2 separate regions of the Homo sapiens genome follow, and region 1 is linked to region 2. Evidence: promoter capture Hi-C in human tissues and cell types (Jung and others, 2019). All regions are on one chromosome and are shown on one strand. Each heading gives the region's core, a stretch centred on a gene start or on the middle of the fragment in contact. The rest is flanking DNA. Distances are from core to core; before and after follow the strand shown.

Evidence for each region. The method cuts DNA at HindIII sites, captures the fragments that hold promoters and counts their contacts. A contact is called where the count stands out against the background at its distance.
Region 1: a contact is called between a fragment that was not itself captured here and the fragment with the promoter of MANF in region 2, in 1 of the 25 tissues and cell types used here (dorsolateral prefrontal cortex).

What each region holds. Positions count from the first base shown.
Region 1 is chr3:50,312,893-50,319,455 of GRCh38, forward strand. It overlaps HYAL2 (hyaluronidase 2), which reads right to left. Exons shown (of 4, transcript NM_003773.5): 3 at 6,064-6,153; 4 at 4,916-5,647. The coding sequence ends at 5,237. Among named protein-coding and RNA genes, the nearest start is that of HYAL2, 6.6 kb to the right of the region's middle. The HindIII fragment of the contact is 9,182 bases long and covers 723-6,563 here.
Region 2 is chr3:51,380,968-51,388,306 of GRCh38, forward strand. MANF (mesencephalic astrocyte derived neurotrophic factor) reads left to right here and starts at 4,324. Exons shown (of 4, transcript NM_006010.6): 1 at 4,324-4,469; 2 at 5,241-5,368; 3 at 6,770-6,911. The coding sequence starts at 4,376. It overlaps DOCK3 (dedicator of cytokinesis 3), which reads left to right. Exons shown (of 53, transcript NM_004947.5): 53 at 83-3,231. The coding sequence ends at 592. RefSeq lists an enhancer at 3,740-4,089 and a silencer at 4,150-4,519. The HindIII fragment of the contact is 5,502 bases long and covers 2,624-7,339 here.

The sequences.
Region 1 (6,563 bases), core at 4,064-6,563, 1.1 Mb before region 2:
GCAGGGAGGTTGCAGTGAGCCGAGATGGCAGCAGTACAGTCCAGCTTCCGCTCGGCATCAGAGGGAGACCGTGGAGGGAGAGGGGGAGGGGGAGGGGGAGGGGAGGGGGAGGGGGAGGGGGAGCCACTGCAATCGGCCACTGTGGTTTCTTTTTTTTTTTTTTTTGAGATGGAGTCTCGCTCTGTCACCCAGGCTGGAGTGCAGTGGCGCGATCTCAGCTCACTGCAACTTATGCCTCCCAGGTTCAAGCAATTCTCCTGCCTCAGCCTCCCGAGTAGCTGGGACTACAGGCGCTTGCTACCATGCCTGGCTAATTTTTGTATTTTTAGTAGAGACAGGGTTTCACCATATTGACCAGGCTGGTCTCGAACTCCTGACCTTGTGATCCGGCCGCCTCGGCCTCTCGAAGTGCTGGGATTACAGGCGTTAGTCACTGCGCCCGGCCCTAGCTGTGGTTTCTTAAAAGCGTGTCAACTAAAGTCAGACAACTTACACTTCAGAAGAAAGTAACAGTAACCTGTTTATGTACATACATAAGCCACTTTCATACCTGCCTACCAATGTATGGACTTCAGAGTAATGTGGCCTATATTTTCCCAGGATTTTTTTTTTTTTTTTTTTTGAGATGGAGTTTCACTCTTGTTGCCCAGGCTGGAGTGCAATGGCGCAATGTCAGGTTGCTGCAACCTCCGCCTCCTGGGTTCAAGTGATTCTCCTGTCTCAGCCTCCTGAGTAGCTGGGATTACAGGCATGAGCCACCATGCCTGGCTAGTTTTTTGTATTTTCAGTAGAGACAGAGTTTCTCCATGTTGGTCAGGCTGTTCTCGAACTCCCAACCGCAGGTGATCCACCCGCCTCAGCCTCCCAAATTGTTGGGATTACAGGCATGAGCCACCCCGCCAGGGCTGGGATTGTTCTTTTGCTGTTTTTTTTTTCTCTTCCTTCCTTCTCCCTATTTTCTCTTCACACTGCATGAGACTTTACAACCTGCTAAAAATGAGCTTTCCGGACCTACTTATCTAGCAATGAGAGATCAGATGAAACCTGAGACCAGATACTCATTTTCTTGCAAAATGCTTTCTCCAAAAGATTTTGAAAAAGAAAATGGGGTAAATGTGAAAGGAAAGTATCTTGGGCCTCTTCAAGCTGGGAACTGCTCAGGACAAATCTGCCTCCCATTCTATTCAAGTCATCCTTTTGCTCACAGAGATAGATGCATATTCTGATTGCCTCCTTTGGAAAGACTTACCAGAAACTCAAAAGAATGCAACCATCTGTCTCTCACCTATCTGTGACCTGGAAGCCCCCAGTGCTTTGAGCCTGGGAGCCTTGATTTGAGCAGTCTCCACCTTTCTTTCTGGAACTAATGTACTTCTTACATATTGATTAATGTCTCATGTCTCCCTAAAATCTATAAAACCAAGCTGTGCCCCAACCGCCCTGGGCACATGTCCTCAGGACTTCCTGAGGCTGTGTCACCAGCAAGTCCTCAACCTCGGCAAAATAAACTTTCTAAGTTAACTGAGACCTTTGTCAGATTTTCTGGGTTCACAGCTGATTCAGAAGCTGGTTATTGACACCTGCTAGGTGCTTGGGCCCAGCCTTGCCTGCCAGAGTAGGTTGAAGGAAACACCATGTCCCTGCCCAAGTGAAAGTGCTACCTGGATCTGAGTCAAGTCTGAGACTGAGCCACTGTAGCCAGGCCACCCCTGGCACGGTGGCCACTGAAGCAACGAAACTCACAGTTAACTACCATCTGGGTTGGGTCCTACAGGCTGCCTGGGATAGAAAAGCTGGCAGGGCTGAGGGAAAGAAGGGCCCAGGATGCTGGGGACAGCATGAGACTTGTACACAAGATCAAGCCCCAGAAGTGGTGACTGCTGATCCAGTTCAGGAAGCAGGGTCCCAGAGTGATGACCATGTAGGCCCAGAGAGCCTGGCACAACTCTTGAGGGCTGAGGGAACAGAACATCAAGGCAACCCCTGGCCCCCCTCCTCAAGGATTCATGCCACCTCCTGGTGCCCCCAGAAACCTAGTGCTGCAGTTGGCCCAATCCAGGTAACCACCAGGCCAGCATTCTCCAGCTGGCCTCAGTCCAAGGGAGAAGCTCTAATGGTGGAACCATAGGAAGAATCTGAGGGTGCCTGAAATCCTCCTCCACCCCAGGGCCCTGCCCACAGGCCTGCTCCTACTGGGCTGGTCCAGTAGGATTGGCTCAAATGGTGTGTGTGTGCGCATATGTCTGGGGTCCATCAGCTTGATGGTCCAGTCCCGCCTGCTGTCTCCGGTTGTTCAACACTTCAGATCTCTGAGCCGCATCACTCCCCATTACCTTATTCCTACCCACTCCCCGCTTTCCCCACAGGACAGTGCTGGCTCTCCCTGAGTTGCACTTTCCCTAGGACCATCTTTTAGGTCCTCCGGGGGAAGAAATGTGAGGTTCATAAAGGTTTATATGGAGGGGGTCACAGCTCGATGGGTACTGGTCACAGCTATGCAGGAGAGGTCACAGTTGCGGAGGAGTCAGTTATTTGGAGACGGTAACAGCTGTATGGGGTCACACATGGGAGGGGTTACAGGTATGTAGGGGTCATAGCTAGGTGGGAAAGGTCACAGTGGTGTGGTCTGGATCACCTCTGTGTGTTGGGTGTGGGTGGGGTAGCTCAGAGGTATGCATGGGTCACATCTGTGTGGGGGAGGTCACAGGTGCAGGAAGTCACAGGTATGGGGGACAGGCCACAGCTCCTTTCTCCTTTCCTGCTGTCCTTTTGCTAAGTGCCATCATCTTATTGTGGCAACTTTTTTTTTGAGACAGAGTCTTGCTCTGTCACCCAGGCTGGAGTTCAGTGGCCCATTCTCCGCTCACTGCAACCTCCTGGGGTCAAGTGATTCTTGTGTTTCAGCTGCCCAAGCAGCTAGGACTACAGGTGTGCACCAACAAACCCAGCTAATTTTTTTTTTTTTTTTTGAGACAGAGTCTCACTCTGTCGCCCAGGCTGGAGCGCAGTGGTGTGATCTTGGCTCACTGCAACCTCCACCTCCCGGGTTCAAGCGATTCTCCTGCCTCAGCCTTCTGAGTAGCTGGGATTACAAGCAGGCACCACCATACCCGGCTAATTTTTTATTTTCAGTAGAGATGGGGTTCACCACGTTGGTCAGGCTGGTCTCTAATTCCTGACCTTGTGATCTGTCCGCCTCGGCCTCCCAAAGTGCTGGGATTAGAGGCGTGAACCACCAGGCCCGGATGCCCAGCTAATTTTTGTATTTTTAGTAGAGACAGGGTTTCAGCATGTTGGCCAGGCTGGTCTCAAACTCCTGGCCTCAAGTGATCCACCTGCCTTGGCCTCCCAAAGTGCTGGGATTACAGGGGTGAGCCACCGCACCCGGCCCATCATTTTATTGACCAACACCTGAATCTTCTCTCCAGCCTGGCCTCCCCCCACCATGGCCATGAGCACCTGGGACCCCTCCACTTGTATGTGCACCTCCTCCTTCACTGTGTGAATTTACCACGTCACCTTTCCAGTGTTACCACCTCACTCTCTCCTCTCCATTCTCTACCCATCACCGGCGAAAGAGGTGAGGGAAGGATATCTTTACAGCCTGGGTTGGCACTGGCTTGGCCGGGCTTGTTTCTCCCATCTGGCATCTCGGTCTTTGCATCTAGTGTGCATCTACCTCTATTTTGTCACTCCCACAAGGACGGGGGTCTTTGTTGGTGTGGTTCATAGATGCATCATCGATGCATCCCCAGCACCTAGCCCAGCACAGGCACACTGTGTGCTCAGCGTTTACTGAATGAGTAAGTCAGTATTAGGTGAAGTCAGGCCTGGTGCTGCTCTAGGGCTGCCCCTCCTGCCTCTGCCCACAGCAGCCACTAAGCCACACCCCAGCCCTGAACTGTTCACCTTCACCACCTCCAACTTCCTCCAGCCTCTGCCCAGGATTTGTTCCTGAGCATCGAGCTGCCGCCCTCACCTTTTAGAACCCAATGTGGGAAGCATCTCCAAGGGCACCACCCCTGCTCCCCTGCTGCTGGCTGCCCTCACCACTCAACGGCTTCTTGAGTCTGTCTCCCCAGAGCCAGAGCCTCCTGAAGCAGGGCTGCGTGGTGAGTCATCACGGACATGGGCGGGACCCCAGGTGTGGGGTTGCTGGCTGAGGGGAGAGGCAGAATGCACTCCCGTCAGAGGCAGGGCTAGTGAAGCAGCTCAGAGCTGGTCTGACAACTCCAGCTGCTCCTTCTTTCCTCAGGGACAGCCAGAGACTAGCCATACTCTCCCACAGCCAGGACGGAGCAGACCTTAGAAGATGTTCCTGCTCCCAGGCCCAAGATGCCACCTCCCAGCCCCATCAGGCATCTCTAGAATGGGACAGGGACTGAACCTCACGATTCAGATCCCAATCCCCTGCCCACCTCCCACCACCAGATCCGAGGGAGGGCTGTGACCCTGATGAGAGGTGTATGTGGCTGGTGTCCACTGCCCTTGGGAGCAGGGACTGGAGGAGACACCCTTGCCTGTGGGAACAGCAGGGAAGATCAAACGTTTCTCCCTTGGGTTGGCAAGGAGGCTGGCACTGGTCCAGCTGGGAGGACAGGGGCAAGTGGCAGAAACACAATGAGCCCTGTCCCTCACACAAGGCGGGGCCTGACTCCCTTGCAACCAATACGGAGAAAGCAACGTCCTTGGTGTTGGGATGGAATGTGGGTCCCTCCACTCCCACTGGGGTGGCTCCTGCCCCAGCAGAACAGCTCCAGAGTGGGCAGCTCTGGGCCCCCAAGTCTTGGTGAATACATCTTACACGAGAAGTCCCCAGCAGAGGGTTTCATAGAGACAGAGCTGAGCTCAAACCCCATGGGAAATTCTGGAATCTCGCATACACTTTAGCCCAGGTACAAAATCCAAGCAGAGAAGCAATTGTTTTATGTTTAATTTACAAAAGAGACCCCAAAATAATAATAATAATAAACTATCTAGGGCAAGGGAGTAGGGTCAGGTCCTCCCCAGCCCAGCTGTACCCTCCTTCCCCTCTGGCAGGGAGAGAAGGGGCCTCCCAGGGACTTCCCCTCCCCCTTAGAACAGGGGGGTGCGAGCTGGTATGGATGCCCTCCTGGGCTTCCTGGGGGCTCTGCCCACTCCAGACTCCAGTTTGTCCACCCCCTGCAGGGTCCTACATGCCTAAGAGAGCCCTTGTGGTAGAGGCCAGCTTGCTAGGCAGCTAGGCAGGAGACCCCTACAAGGTCCAGGTAAAGGCCAGGGCTGCCAGAGCCAGCAGACTGGTGAGGTGGGACCCAGCCCAGGCCTCGCTGGCACCTCCAGCTGCCTGCCTATGGTCCCACTGGCATTGCTCACCACTCCAGCCCAAGTAGCACTGGCAGCGGAAGTGTGTCTGCAGGTGGTCAATGTCGGCCCAACTGAGCTCCCCCACAGGTCGCAGCTGGGGTTCACCAGGTGCATGGCCAGGCACTAGGCGGAAACTGTTGGTGCTGAGATGCAGGAAGGTACTGGCACTGGGGTTGCGGCGCACACAGCGCCCATGGCCATGGCACTGGGCCCGGCTGCAATATTGGGTGGCCCAGGACACATTGACCACGTAGGGGACCAGCAGCCGTGTCAGGTAATCTTTGAGGTACTGGCAGGTCTCCTGGAGGCAGAAGACAAGGACCACAGGTCAGGGTCAGCTGCCTCAGCCCACAGGCCCAGATGGAAACTGTGTCCACACTGTGATGACTATACCTTATTTTAACTGCACACATTCATACATTCAATCTGCACCTGAGCCACACAGTCCCTGCTCCTGCTGAGAAGTGGGTGGGGGTACAGACCGGAACCCAGTTGGGCAGATGGGGAAGGGCGGAACTCAACAGCTGTTCAGGACAGCATTTCCTCTTTCCTGAGAGCAGGGCCGGGGTGACCTCCTCCTGTTGCCACCAGGGATGCCTCGGGTGGGAGACAGACAAGGGGACCAGACTAGGATTGCCCACCTGAGGTTGGTAGCCAAAGGCCCTAACTCTCTGTCTGTCCCATAGACTGAGCTCTGGCAGGCTGGGTCTCGCTTACCGTGCTTGTGGTGTACCCCGCGTCACCCCAGAGGATGACACCAGCTGCGCCCAGGGCCGCACTCTCGCCAATGGTAGAGATGAGGTCCATCTATGCAGGAAAAGGGATGGTCACTGGGGAAGACTGAGACCACAGGGTGACAGGAACAGACAAGGAGGGCAGACCCCAGCCTGATTCAACCTGCTGAACTCCCAGCTCAACCCCCATTTCACGTCCAGGCAGAGGCTCATTTGTTTTGCTTCCTTTTTAAACATTTAAGTCCATTTCCACCCCACTTTTGGGGCTCAGTTTCCCAAGCCAAGGGCACACTTGAGCCTAGGTGCAGCTATCAGGATGGATTCCAAAGTTAGAAGGCCTGGGCCCCAGTCCCAGCTCTGCTCTGGATTTGCTGGGAAGCTTTGGGCAAACTTCTCAGCATCGCTGTGCCTCAATTGTTCTCATCTGAAAAATGGGGATAATGATGTCACCCTTTCAGGTTATAGACAGAATGATTTGAGGGG
Region 2 (7,339 bases), core at 3,074-5,573:
GCAGGCTCTTGGTCTTCCTATGGCGGGCAAGTCAGCCTGTCTGGAGAGAGGGATTCTAACATGCCCACCCTTTCCTTCGCAGTCTCCTCTCCACCCTATCCCAGCCTCCCCCACAAGCCCCCAGTCAGGTCTGGACGGCAGCAACTCTACGCTGTCCGGCAGTGCCAGCAGCGGCGTGTCCTCCTTGAGTGAGAGTAACTTTGGGCACTCCTCGGAGGCCCCACCTCGCACTGACACCATGGACTCCATGCCAAGTCAGGCCTGGAATGCTGACGAAGATCTTGAGCCACCCTACCTCCCTGTCCACTACAGCCTCTCTGAGTCTGCCGTCCTGGACTCCATCAAGGCCCAGCCATGCCGAAGCCACTCAGCCCCAGGGTGCGTCATCCCTCAGGACCCCATGGACCCGCCTGCGCTGCCGCCCAAGCCCTACCACCCCCGCCTGCCGGCCCTGGAGCACGATGAGGGGGTGCTGCTGCGTGAAGAGACTGAGAGGCCTCGAGGCCTGCACCGCAAGGCTCCATTGCCTCCTGGGAGCGCTAAGGAGGAGCAGGCCCGCATGGCCTGGGAGCACGGCCGAGGGGAGCAGTGAGGGGCAACGAGGCGGCTGGGATGCCGCCCTCAGTAAGCAGCTTGCCAATCACTCCAGGTCTGAAAAGCAAGTCCCCCAGCCCCACCCCAGGGAGCCAGAGAGGCTTGCACTCAGGAGAGAACCACCCCCAAGTCTCCGTTCTACTGCCGTGAACTCATGTGTTGCCATGTACAGAGGCCACAGCAGCATGAAGGGTTGTGGCTTCCCTTTTTATTTTTTTACATTTCCATTTCTATGGGTTTTCCTTTCTTTCCTTTATGCAGTAGATGCTTTCTTCCTCCTGCAGTTCTGGACCATGTGGAGCTACATGGAGAAATTGCACAGACAGAATCACTTTGCCACACTGCAGGGCCCAGGAGTGGGAGCCCAGGCCCTCCCTCCAGGGTAGAGATGCACCGAATGGAAATTGCACTAAGGACCTCTTCCTTTGCTGTATGGACAGAAGAGTTCATGGTTGCATTCAGGGATTGCAAGGACCATATAGACATGTCACAGGTGGAAAAAGGGCCACAAGCCGTTTTGCACAAATGCCTGCCCACCTGCCCCTCTTCCATCCAGGAGTGTGCTACTGAGGGGCTGGCTGGACCAACCTGCTGGCTCAGGCATGTGACTGGCCTAACTGCATGCCCAGGGCACTGCCAGGGTTCAATGGGCCAGCCGTCTCCTACTCCACCTTGGATTTTTCTCTCCATCACATCATTTCTGACCATTTGCTCCCTTCCATTCTTGAAACACCTCATGCCCCACAGGAGCCCCAGTGGTGACTGGATCTGCAAGGGTTATCTCCCGCCCTCTGGGGTTTGAGTGGAGGTATGGAGCCAGAGAGGCTATCCTAGCTACCTTCCTCCTAGGGGGAGCTGGTCCCCTTCCTATGTGGTAGAGAGACTGGTGTAAGAGTGTGGGGTGTGGCAGGCGCCGGAAATCCTCAAAGCTTTCAGAAGCATCCAGAATGCCTACCATCAGCTCCTGAATCAGGGATTTTCAGCACTACCTCTGAGCCATGGGGTTGGCTGCCCAGCCAGGCTTCCAGGCCCTGAGGACATGTGGTCAGGTTCAGCAGGCTCCTGGGTAAAGAGGGTGGGAGGGGGCTTCTCCTTTTGGAAGCAGATAGCCATGCAGGTAGAATTGTCATCTCCCAAGTGGCCACATACAGCAACCCACTCCAGGCCATGGGGACCACCACTCAGGGTTCGGGGCTGGCAGGAGGGTAGTTTCTCCAGTCTCCCCAGTCTGTTGGTGTCTTTATAGGAAACTATAAAGCAGAGCAGTGGTGTCTTTAGAGGAAACTCATTCAAGTCAGGGCACTGATTTTCCTCTCAGTTTATTATTTGGGGGGATAGGGTCAGGTGGGTATAGTAGTACTTTACCAGGGTGCTTTTAAGTTACTTTAAAAAAAGCCTACAAAATATTTTTTTTCTTTTATTTGCTCGAGTTCACATTAATGATGGTCACAAGGCTGCCTTGTTGGGCAGGCGTATTGCCCCCAGTTCCTCTTCTGCTGGCCTGTATGACCTCCACAGCCAGGCCCTGGGCCCAAGCCCCTTGTCCCTTCTCCACTGCCCCTCTTTCCAGACAGTAAAGGCCATGGTCAGTGTGTTTTTCTCTTGTAAACAAACCCCAGCTTGTTTAACAGAAATGCTAATAACCTACTGGGAAAGATGGAGGTCTAAATTACCTCCAGGGTTTTTCTGGGGGTTTATCACCAGTGTGGGTCCCTTCTGATACCACCAGGTTCACTCCAGGCAGAGTGGGGCGGAAGGCTGCTGAGGATATGGGTCAGTTACAGCAGCCCTCACCTCAAAGGGCTGGCCTGCTTCTCAGCCTACATTCATTTGCAAGCTTCAATCTCTGGACCATCTGGTGTTCACAGGTGTTAGAGGGTTAGGGGTTAGGGGCTAGTTTTGGATTTGATTCATAGGTAGGAGGGCTTAGATTTTAAGGCACTTCTGAAAGTCAATCCCTGGACAAGGCAGTCATCACATAAGAACAGCTACCTTCTCCACTTGGTGGCACAAGAGGTAGGGAGGGGAGTATGGGTTCATTTGGCTTCGCATTATGCAAGGTGAAACCGTTTGTTTTCCCTCTCCATTTTCCCTAACTAAATGAAAAGGACACATTCTGAAATCCCTTTTGTTGGAGAATAAGTCAGTCTGAGGGGAAATGGGAGGCCAGAGATGAGAACCCTTTGAAAAGATTGTAAAATACTGATTTTCATTCTTTCAAGCTTATTTGTAAATACCTATTTGAATGCTGTGTATTTGTACAGGAATTTGAGCAAAAAATGTATAGAGTGTGATGTCCAATTGGTATTCAGCACTATAAATGTGTTTTTAACCTCCCGCATTCTGTGCTTATTTAAAACAAGGAAACTTCTAACCATTTCTTTTGTGTATTCATGTTTAAAGAAAAAAAGTGATTTAAAAATGATCTTACCTGTACCAGAAAAGCAAAGTTAAAGGAAACAAAATTTGTACCATTGTCCCAAGAGGTATTTTACTGTATATATTGTGGTAGCATGTTCAAAATCCAACAAGTAATGTGAATTTTAGATGTAAATATCTGCCACTTGATTTTTTTTCCCCCTTTCCCCACTTCCTTGACTGCTGTGATGTGAATTAAAGATAAATACGTGATACTGATCCACTGAATTCACTGAATGGGAGCAGAGGATGTGCCCCTCTCCAACCCTTGTCGCCGGGCTCCAAGCCCTTTTTAGCCCTATAGACATGTCCTTTTTGCACTGAGTAGAGCCAACGGTTCCCGCATCCTGCCTTGAAGGCAGGCAGCCAGGAGGGCACTTGAAAGGAGGGCAGTCGAAAAGGAAACATCCTCCAGTGCTTCTCTGGTGATTCCCGGGACCCCACTCAGGAGGTCCCACGGCAGCGGGGGACCCCGAGGGCCTAGCCGGGGAGGCAGGAGGAGGCTGGCCAGCCACCAAGCCACGATTCAGAGCTTGTAAGGGCACCTCCCGAGCCCCTCACCTTCCCACTCTGAGGCGACCCCATGTCCTCGACCGATGATCTGGCCCGGGCGCTTCCCTCCACGGTCTAGAGTGGCGGCCCAGCTTTGAGCTTGGCGCGCCTTGAGCCCTTCCTTCAGATGTCCCGCAGTCCGTCCACCCCGCACGTCTCCTATCAGCCTATGCACGGCGGGCTCCGGTCAGGTGGAGGATCAGCAGGTGGGCTTTCAAAGGTTGGATCCGTTGCCCACGCGAATGAAAGAAGAAAAAAGAAACCTCTTTGAGCCTTGCCTGCGGCCGCCCGCCCTTCCTGCCTAACCTGTTGTCTTGGCTGACCCCAGAACTCCTGCACCACGAGTCGGAGTCCGGGCGAGGAGATCAGCAGGGGTTTTCGAGGGAGCCTGGGGCCCAGGGCAGGGGTACGCGGGTCAACTCAACAGATGTAAGGCGTGGCCGAACCCCATTCAGCTAGCAGTACCCAGCCTCAGCCACAGTCGCTGCCCTTACCCAAGATGGCGGCCCACACCGCTTCCGTCGCTGCTGTAGTCGCTTCCTGCGGCCAGCCCGGGTTCAATCAGCGGCCGACAACTGTCTAGGGCTCAGACACCACCAGCCAATGAGGGAGGGCAGCGTGGAGCCGCCCGTCTGGGCTCGCGGCTCCTGGACCAATGGGGAAGTGGCATGTGGGAGGGCGCCGGGGGGCCCCCCGCCAATGGGGAGCTACGGCGCGCGGCCGGGACTTGGAGGCGGTGCGGCGCGGCGGGTGCGGTTCAGTCGGTCGGCGGCGGCAGCGGAGGAGGAGGAGGAGGAGGAGGATGAGGAGGATGAGGAGGATGTGGGCCACGCAGGGGCTGGCGGTGGCGCTGGCTCTGAGCGTGCTGCCGGGCAGCCGGGCGCTGCGGCCGGGCGACTGCGAAGGTGCGGGATAGGGGGCCGGGGGCCGCGCTCCGTGACCGTTCTGGCGGCGGCGCTGAACCCCACAACATCACCAGACGGCCGGGGCCAAGAGGGCGAGGGCGGGGGCGGGGGCGGGGGCGACAGCAGGTCCCCGCGGGGCCTGCATGAGGAGGCTCCGGCGCCCGCCCTAGTAAATCTTTCTTGGGCCTAGAAAACATTGGTCCGACGAAGAAAAGTTGAGACTAGATCCCGTTGAAAACTTGTCCTGAAATCTCCATCACTCCTGAGTTATTGTCCCCACCACCATCTAGAGGTTACCGCTCCCCGTTCGGCGTCGGGAGCTCCAGGGCTGGCCGTGGGTGCTGCGCCCTGTCTGTTGGGATCACGAAGCTGCACCTCTGGGTCCGCTGTTGTATTTGGAAATTAGCAGCAGCATTTTGATCATTTTTCTCTTCACCTTCCAGTCTCTCCATTTATGAGGTCACAGTGAGTCCCGTCTCAAGGACACGTGTTCACCATGGGCTTAAACTTGATGAAAGGAGCAGGGAGAAGTCGTTTATAGGTCATTGGGTGATGCTTGGTCCTTTGATGCCCTGGGTGTACCAGGGGACCCCCGCCACTTGGAACCGGGTTCTGTCTACCTGTAGACACCTGAGAAAAATCGGTGATGGAAAAGCTCACCTCTAATGATTCATCTCCGTGTCTCCTATTAAAATTGCTGGCGGAGTTCTTTTCTGGTGGATTGGAACAGCTTGGTGATTGCTGAGCATCTCCCGTCCCTCTCTTTTCCAGTTTGTATTTCTTATCTGGGAAGATTTTACCAGGACCTCAAAGACAGAGATGTCACATTCTCACCAGCCACTATTGAAAACGAACTTATAAAGTTCTGCCGGGAAGCAAGAGGCAAAGAGAATCGGTTGGTAAGTAGCTGGTGATCCTCCCCAACTGGCCCTGGCTCATGTTAACCCTCGGCTTCACCAGCCGTTTGATAAAAGGCCTTGCCCACCTCTCTGTTCAGGAAGCCAGCTACTCTCTCCATAAACTAATGTGAGAAGACTGAAGTGCTTCTATGTCCTTCCCAAAGCAGCATGTGTTCTGCAACTGTGATTTTTTTTTATCCTGTTAGTCTTTATTAAGCACCTACTATGTGCTAGGCACTGGGAATATCAGGGGAAAGAAGTGACAGTCGGACACACAAATAATGCAATGTCTGGGTGTCATGAAGAAAATGGACCAGCAGGTGCTGATTTAGAGTGGCCAAGAAGTCTCTGAGGAAGGGTTATCATTGAAGTGGGGTAAGACCATCCCATACAGGGAACAGCAGTGTGAGTGCCCAGAGGCCTGAAAGAGTGTGGCATGTATGTGGACAGGAGAAGGTGACAGGGTGCCTACAGGATAGGCAAGGGCCGAATCCAAGACAAAAGCCCTAGTGAAGCAATGGGTTTTCTAACTTGAATTTCTCTGACAGTCTCTGGCTTTTCTCTCTGTTAAAGGTTTGAACCCTGGTGACACTTAAATTCATTTGGTGGCTGTCAGCTTGGACTGAGCATGTGTTAAGAGTCCAGGGTTTACACTGGCTGAATCTGACTACCAGTACAGGCAGGGCACCGAAAAATGCCGCTGTGGGCCAGGTGCGGTGGCTCATGCCTGTCTTCCTAGCACTTTGGGAGGCCAAGGTGGGAGGATTGCTTGAACTTAGGAGTTTGAGATCAGCCTGGGCAAAGTGGTGAAATCCTGTCTGCACAAAAAAATTTTTAGGCTAGGCGTGGTGGCTCACACCTGTAATCTCAGCACTTTGGGAGACCGAGGTGGGTGGATCACCTGAGGTCAGGAGTTCAAGACCAGCCTGGCCAACATGGCAAAACTCTATCTCTACTAAAAAATACAAAAATTAGCCAGGCATGGTGACAGGCGCCTGTAATCCCAGCTGCTCAGGAGGCTGAGGCAGGGAGAATTGCTTGAACCTGGGAGGCGGAGGTTGCAGTGAGCCGAGCCAAGATTGCGCCACTGCACTCCAGCCTGGGTGACAGAGCAAAACTTTATCTCAAAAAAAAAAAAAAATTGTTTTAGTTAGCTGGGTGTGGTGGCCCACACCGGTAGACCCAGCTACTAGGGTGGCTGAGAGGGGAGGATCACCACCCAACAGATTGAAGCTGCAGGGAGCCGTGATCATGCCACTGCATTCCAGCCTGGGTGACAGGGAGCCCTATCTCAAAACACAAGTAAGGCCCTACAGAGAGATGATGTTTCAAGGTGTCAGTATGTTTGGAGGAGATGGCTCTCAAGCACCTCCTGAAGGCCATTGTCCTTTATTGCTCCAGTGCTACTATATCGGGGCCACAGATGATGCAGCCACCAAAATCATCAATGAGGTATCAAAGCCTCTGGCCCACCACATCCCTGTGGAGAAGATCTGTGAGAAGCTTAAGAAGAAGGACAGCCAGATATGTGAGCTTAAGTATGGTGAGTATGCCTAGTCCTTTCTTAATGAATGCTGTGCACCTTCTGGGTTTGTTTCCCATCTGGGAGAGGAAAATGATGAGCTAGAGTCATGAGTGGGTTGTATTGTATGACAGATGGTGCTAAATGCTGGAGGGCTCTGGCATGGAAGTGGGTGGAGGTCAGAATAGGCCTTATTGAAGAAGTGATATTTCAGCAAACTTTGAAGGAGGTGAGGATTAGCCAAGAGGCCAGCTAATGGAAGAGGATACAGGCAGGATAAAGGTGTCCAGTGGCATGGCAAGTCAGAGAGCATTGCAGGCTGGTGAGGGCTTTTAATCTGCGTGAAGTTAGGAGCATTAGGAGTTTTTCAGCAGAGAAGGGACATAGTACGACTTGGGTTTAACAGGCTGGTTCTGGCTGCAAGCTCTGAAGCCCCAGTGATTTTTACT